2 separate regions of the Homo sapiens genome follow, and region 1 is linked to region 2. The links are contacts of gene promoters, found by promoter capture Hi-C in human tissues and cell types (Jung and others, 2019). All regions are on one chromosome and are shown on one strand. Each heading gives the region's core, a stretch centred on a gene start or on the middle of the fragment in contact. The rest is flanking DNA. Distances are from core to core; before and after follow the strand shown.

Region 1 (3,325 bases), core at 690-3,189, 75 kb after region 2:
CTAAAGCTTAGTCAAGCCTATTACTATGGATTCAATGTGGAGCAGTTGAAAGATGACAGGGCTTGAATATTGTCCAGAACAAGTGCCTCCACCTTCCCATCTTCCATGAAATGGCATAGCAGTGTGCAAAGAGCAAGTTCATAAACCAGGAAGACTGGGTTTTAGCTCTGGCTTTGTCCCTTAGTTGCTAGGTGACCCTGGGAAAACAACTGCTTCTTTCTGGGCCATAATATTTTTTTTGTTCGTTTTTTTGAGATGGGGTCTCAGTCTATTGCCCAGGCTGGAGTGCGGTGGCATGCAGTGGCATGATCTCGGCTCACTGCAGCCTCCACCTCCTGGGTTCAAGTGATTCTCCTGCCTCAGCCTCCCGAGTAGCTGGGATTACAGGTGCCTGCCACTGTGCCTGGCTAATTTTTTTTTTTTTTTTTTTTTTTTTTTTTGAGACGGAGTCTTGCTCTGTCACCCAGGCTGGAGTATAGTGTCACGATCTCGGCTCACTGCAACCTCCGCCTCCTGGGTTCAAGCGATTCTCCTGCCTCAGCCTCCCGAGTAGCTGGAACTACAGGCACCACCATGCCCAGCTAATTTTTTTTAAAAATATTTTTAGTAGAGGTGGGGTTTCACCATATTGGTCAGGCTGGTCTTGAACTCCTGACCTTGTGATCTGCCCGCCTCGGCCTCCCAAAGTGCCGGGATTACAGGGGTGAGCCACCCTGCCTGGCCCATGCCTGGCTAATTTTTGTATTTTTAGTAGAGATGGGGTTTCACCATGTTGGCCCCGCCTCAGGTGATCCGCCTGCCTCAGCCTCCCAAAGTGCTGGCATTACAGGTGTGAGCCACCGTGCCTCGCCCATAATCTTTTTATCTGTAGAAGAAAATGACATTTGGGAATCCTTGCAGGCAAATGCTATAGGATTGTAAGTTTCAAGATGGAAGGGGGAAGAAGATCCTGGAGGAGGAACGTTAGAAGAGACCATGATTCTTTAGACCCCTTCATTTCATGGATGGTCTGCTTCCTTCTAGGCGGAGAGAGACTGAAAAAGAAAAATTGTTTGAAACCTCCAGCACTCGCACAGGTAAAGTCAGAGGCCTAGCCCACTCCTGTCTCTTCATCCCTACCCATTGCTTCCAGGAGACAGAGGCAGCTTTTCATGTCCCTGACAAGAGCTGAGGGTGTCTGGAAAGTTGGGGGTGGGGTTGGGGGAGGGACCAGGGGAAGTATAGGCTGGGCATAGATTCTGGAGGACTCTGTACATCAGGCTTCAGATTTTAGATTTCATCCTCTAAGCAGTGAGGCCCCTTGGAAGATTTCAAGCATGGGTGTTTACTTCTTCATATATTCATGTATCATACAGCCACTGAGTCCACACTTTGTGCAAGGCACTTAGAGAGGGGCTGAAGATAACCGAAAGATGTCTCTGGAGGGTGGCCTGAGAGAGGGGAGGGGCTGGTCCTTAAAGAGCAGTGAGGAAGAAGGCAAAAGTATAGCATTGACATCACTGGGCCAGGCATCTAGGTCCAGGACAGAGTAGCTGCCATGCCCATTAGGGGGAAGGTGCTTTATGGGTATCATTTGTGGGTGATATATGTTGGAGGCTAGAGGAAGAAAACTTCAGCGGTCCTGGAATTGCTAAACCAGAGTCAAGTCACTGCATATTGGCAGTTAGGAGATGGCATTATCGCTTTCATTCACACAAGGAAGCGACATGGTTAGATTTCTGTGTAAAGGGCTGAGGAAGTGAATTAGGCTTAGTAAGGGGAAGGGATGCTAGAGTTTCTTTGAGGGTTGTGAGGATGATCACACAGTAAGTTTTGGAAGCCAATGCAGTGTCAAAGGGAAACCAATTAGGAGGCAGAAGACTGCGCGGTGTGGGATATAATTTCCTTCCGCAACTCCTGGAGACTTAATTAAAGTTGGAACAGTCACAAAATCATGAATTTAATTTAATTTCTTATGGACAATGGTGAAGCTCCTGATATTCCATGTACCAGCTGGCAGATGAGTGGAACTGATACAACACTTAGGGTTGCAGGAATGAATCCACAGGGATCATGAAAAACTAAGTTTAGAAATTTGAATAAATTAAATAGAAGGCAATGGTCTTTCATATGCTGTGAAACTGGAGGTTTAAGCCAAGTTTACCCAGGTCTGAGGCAGGGCGACCTCAAGTTACATGGTTACTTGAGTTACAAATTACATGGAATTTAAGATCACTCTACTGGCTACGTTACAAAGTCTGAAGCTAACTGACGATTGCAGCTAGTTTATGATTATATCAGTAGTTGTTCCTTAGTAAGCTAGGGCTGCCATAACAAAATACCATAGACTGGGTGGCTTGAACAACAGAAATTTATTTTCTCACAGTTCTGGAGGCTAGAAATCCCAGATCAAGGTGCTGGCAAATTTGGTGAGGAGCCCTAGTGAGCACTGTCTTCTTAGCTTGAATGCAGCTGCCTTCTCACTGTGTGTTCACATGGCCTTTTCTGTGTGTGTGCTTGGGAGAGTGGGATCTCGGGTCTCTCTTCCTCTTCTCATAAGGGCACCAGTCCTGTTGGATTAGGGCCCCACCCTTATGGCTTCATTTAACCTTAATTACTCCTGAAGTGCCCTGTCTCCAAATACAGTCACACTGAGGGTTAGGACTCTGACATATGAAATTGGAGTTGGGGGGACATAATTCAGCCCATAACAATAATCCAGCCAAGCAGTGATAGAACATGGAGATGAGGAGGAAACATGGCTGGGAAAGAAGTTTTGAAAGTAAAATTGAAGAACTATATAAACCTAGATAAAAGAGGTGGCTTAGAAAAAGTAACAGTTAACTTGACCCTACCCACTACTATGCTAAAATGGTGATGAGAAAAGGTGAGTAGAAAATAAATGAAGGATTTTCTGTTTTTAAGAGCTCTTAGGTTGCCTATTAGAGAAACCAGTTTTTCTTGATCTAAGCAGAAAGAAAAGGCATTGGAAAGCTATTTGGGTACCTCAAAGAGATATCTAGAAGGTGCAGGACCAAGTTTAGAATCAGGGAAGGAACAAGGAAGACTAGACAGAAGTCAGGACCTCAGCCATAACCACAGCCCAGATCCATTAAAGTTGAGGAGAATGGAGCCTCATTTGCTAAATACGGAGTGCCATGTGTTGCCCCATGCCACCTCCAGGATGGGCACGTACTGCTGCACCTACTGATGCCATGTCTACCACCAGAAGGCCTCTCTCTAGTGTGAGGGGGTATTTTTCAGCAATTTAAGTCAATTTTGTTGTCTTCTGTCGTATGTAGTTTCTTATGTAAAGTTTCAGTTTTCTTACCCCTGTTCTTCTGTT
Region 2 (3,428 bases), core at 807-3,306:
CAAAACAAAATAGGTAATTATATTCAATGTGGCTAGGATAGTAATAAGAAGTTTATTTGGAGGGATATATAGAACACACAGGAGAAGGTAGTTAATCAAATCTGGTGGTGAGAAATAGGGGTGAGGCTGAACAAAGAAGGCTTCCTGAATTGAGCCTCACACTAAGAGAAGGAGTGTTAGCCCGGTCAACTTTGGGAGTGTATAAGCCTGCCAGTAGGGACAGCGTGAATAAACATACAGAATGGTGTAGGGGAGTAGAACAAGAGGTTTGCTTTGCTGAAGCTTCAATGTAAGTGGTGATGGAGGAGAGTTGGGGGCAAGTTGAGGCTGGAGAGAAAGGTGAGATCCAATTTAAGGAGCTTTAATTTTTGGAATGTGTTTTAGGCATAGTCAGATTTGCATTTTTAAAAGATCAACAGTTGGTCTTAGATTTTGGGAGAGGTAAACTGGAAACAGTGAGGCGCTTTGGGAGTCTGCTGCAGTCTACCTTAACGTAGCGGTATTAAGCTGGGTTGGCATGTACTGAGATGATTAGGGCCTAGTGGGCATTGAAATGCAATAAGATAATGACTAGGCGAAATAGGAAGTATCCTAATAAGCAGAATTTGGTCACTCTGTGTAAGGTGGAGGGTTGGGGGGTTGCAAAGGAATAGGAGGAGTTGAGGATGAGACATCTGTTTCACATCTTGTCATTTAGTGATTTAGAGCCATAGAAGATGGAGCAGACATGAAGGGAAAGATAATGAATTTAAGTTAGGGTTTACTGAGTTTGAGGTGTCTGCAGCAGGACGGCCAGATTGAAGGCCAGTGGCTGGCAGTTGGAGATAAAGGTCTAGAGCTCAGGAACGAGGTCAGAGTCAGAGAAATGGCTAGAGGAATCAAAGATTAAACAAACAAAAGCGAAAACAGGCCCATTTGTGGCCCTTTGAGTGGTTGAAACTGGTTTAAAAAAGGTAAGGCAAAGTGGGGATGGTTACTGGGTACAACAGATATATAGTTAGAATAAATAGGATCTAATATTTGACAGCACAACAAGGCGACTACAGTCAGCAATTATTTATTGAACATTTTTAAAAATAACTAAGAGTGTAACTGGAACGTTCATAACCCAAAGAAATGATAAATGCTTAGGTGATGGATACTCAGTGTACCTGATGTGATTCTTTTTTTTTTTTAGATGGAGTTTCACTCTTGTTGCCCAGGTTGGAGTGCAGTGGTGCTATCTCGGCTCACTACAACCTCTGCCTCCCAGGTTCAAGTGATTCTCCTGCCTCAGCCTCCTGAGTAGCTGGGATTACAGGAATCCACCACTGTGCCCGGCTAATTTTTTTGTATTTTAGTAGAGACAGGGTTTCATCATGTTGGCCTGGCTGGTCTCGAACTCCTGACCTCAGGTGATCCACCTGCCTCGGCCTCCCAAACTGCTGGGATTACAGGCGTGAGCCACTGTGCCTGGCCTCCTGATGTGATTCTTACACATTGTATACCTTTATCAGAATATCTCATGTATTCCTACTATGAGTTGTATAAATAATACACTTATTATGTACCCATAAAAATTAAAAATTTGTTTTAAAAAGGCAGAAAAAATAGTTAAAAATAAAATAAAATAAAGAGGTAGCCTGGGCGTGGTGGCTGGGGGGCACAGGGCTGTAGTCCCAGCTACTCTTCAGGCTGAGGCAGGAGGCTGCTTGAGCCCAAGTTTGAGGCCCAGACTGGGCGACAAGACCCCGTCTCTTAAAAAATATATAAATATATAGATAGATGTATATATATATATGGCAATTTTATGAATAACTGGGATACAAAAAATTGGTAATGCTTGAACTAAGTTATTAACAAGGACTAAACTTAAACAGTCAAGTTCTTTTTGTAAGAACCAAACCAAACCAAAAACAAAGAGAGCATACCTTACCGGACATTTAAAAGGTGGGGCTCTGAGCCAAGGCTGGGGGTCTGGCCTTAGCTTCAGCCTTGCTCTGGCACGGGGTGTCCTTGACCACGCCCACAGCCCCGCCAGGCCGCCCCCTCCCGCCCCGCCTCCCTCGGGCTGCCCTTCCAGCCAGGCGTCCATCTTAAGAGACGCTGGTCTCCTCAGGCGTGAAGATTGGATTTGGGTTGGGACTGGGAAGTCTCGGTAAGTAAATGTGCCCAGTTCCGTGCTTCCTCCCTAAGCAGCACCAGAAGCAGGAAGTTCTATTAGTATTATTAGTCGGCGGCCAAACTTGAGGCCCTTTGACGTTGTTCGCTCACTCTGTCGGGTCGTTTGTGTCCCCTCTCGAGGATTACGGGCCTGGACCTCCTGTTCAGTATCTGACAGTAGCGGCTTCGTGTATTTTCTAGTTTTCTAGTTGTTAATGGCGAAGGGGATAAAAATCAGCTTCGACTATGCCAATCCTGGGCGGCAACCCTTGGGTTTTGATCTCATGAGCTGGGGAATGGCGGTGACCTTTACTGAGATGGGACAGATTGCAGGAGGAATCGATTTTAGAGGGAAAAAACATCAGGGGTTCAGTTTTGGACATATTACTTTTGAGGTGCCTGTGAGAAATCCAAATGGAGATTTCAGTAGCCTGTCGGATATATGAGTGTAGAATTCAGAGAAGAGCTCTGGGAAGGAAACAGTGTTTCTCGATCTCCCCTTAAATATTAGGAATTTTCATGTAAACGTGGCTACGCTGGCTGGTGCTTAGACACAAAGTATCTGCAGGTGTGTAGACAATGGTGGTGGTAATTATTCTGGTTAAAAAGCTGCCTTTTATTCGATATCCAAGCAGCTTACCATCCTCCCATAGAGCTTTTTGTTCATAACGTCTGCCCTTGGACACCCCAGTATTTGCAATTAGTCACACCAAGTTCTATATATATGCAGTAGTTTCATCATTAACCAACTGAAAGTTTTTTTCTCATTTCCATTGTGATTTTTCTTTGACCATGCGTAGGTTTCTGTGTGTTTAATTCCCAAATGTGCAATTTGTTTTTCTTACTGATTTCCAGTTAAATTGCACTGTAGTCAGAAGATATATTCTTAAGATGTCAAGGTTTATTAAAACCAATTGTGATTTTTGATAAATATTCCATGTCCATTTTAAAGTACACTCTGCATTTGTTGAGTACAGTGTTCTATAAATGTTAAGACTAGTTAATCAACTTTTACAGTCGTCTATATCCTTACAGACTTTTTTTCTGCTTATTCTGTTTTTTTTTTAAGAGGTGTGTTAAATCTCCTACCATGATTATGCATTTGTCCATTTCTCCCTTAGAGACTAGGTGATTGGGTACTGTTATAGTTTCGGTGCCGCAAAAGAAATAGCACTCAAATATAAAATTTTCTTTTTAATTCTTAGCAAGGCAATATACTTCTATAGAAGGGTGCACCCTTACATATGGAGCAATGGTGAGCACACACTTGGACAAGGGAGGGGAAG

Evidence for each region. The method cuts DNA at HindIII sites, captures the fragments that hold promoters and counts their contacts. A contact is called where the count stands out against the background at its distance.
Region 1: a contact is called between a fragment that was not itself captured here and the fragment with the promoter of GDPD4 in region 2, in 2 of the 25 tissues and cell types used here (neural progenitor cells and thymus).

The regions. Positions count from the first base shown.
Region 1 is chr11:77,225,615-77,228,939 of GRCh38, reverse strand. GDPD4 (glycerophosphodiester phosphodiesterase domain containing 4) reads left to right here. Exons shown (of 17, transcript NM_182833.3): 16 at 1,024-1,076. Among named protein-coding and RNA genes, the nearest start is that of GDPD4, 74 kb to the left of the region's middle. The HindIII fragment of the contact is 7,413 bases long and covers 1-3,325 here.
Region 2 is chr11:77,300,314-77,303,741 of GRCh38, reverse strand. It overlaps GDPD4 (glycerophosphodiester phosphodiesterase domain containing 4), which reads left to right and starts at 2,056. Exons shown (of 17, transcript NM_182833.3): 1 at 2,056-2,137. The HindIII fragment of the contact is 16,410 bases long and covers 1-3,428 here.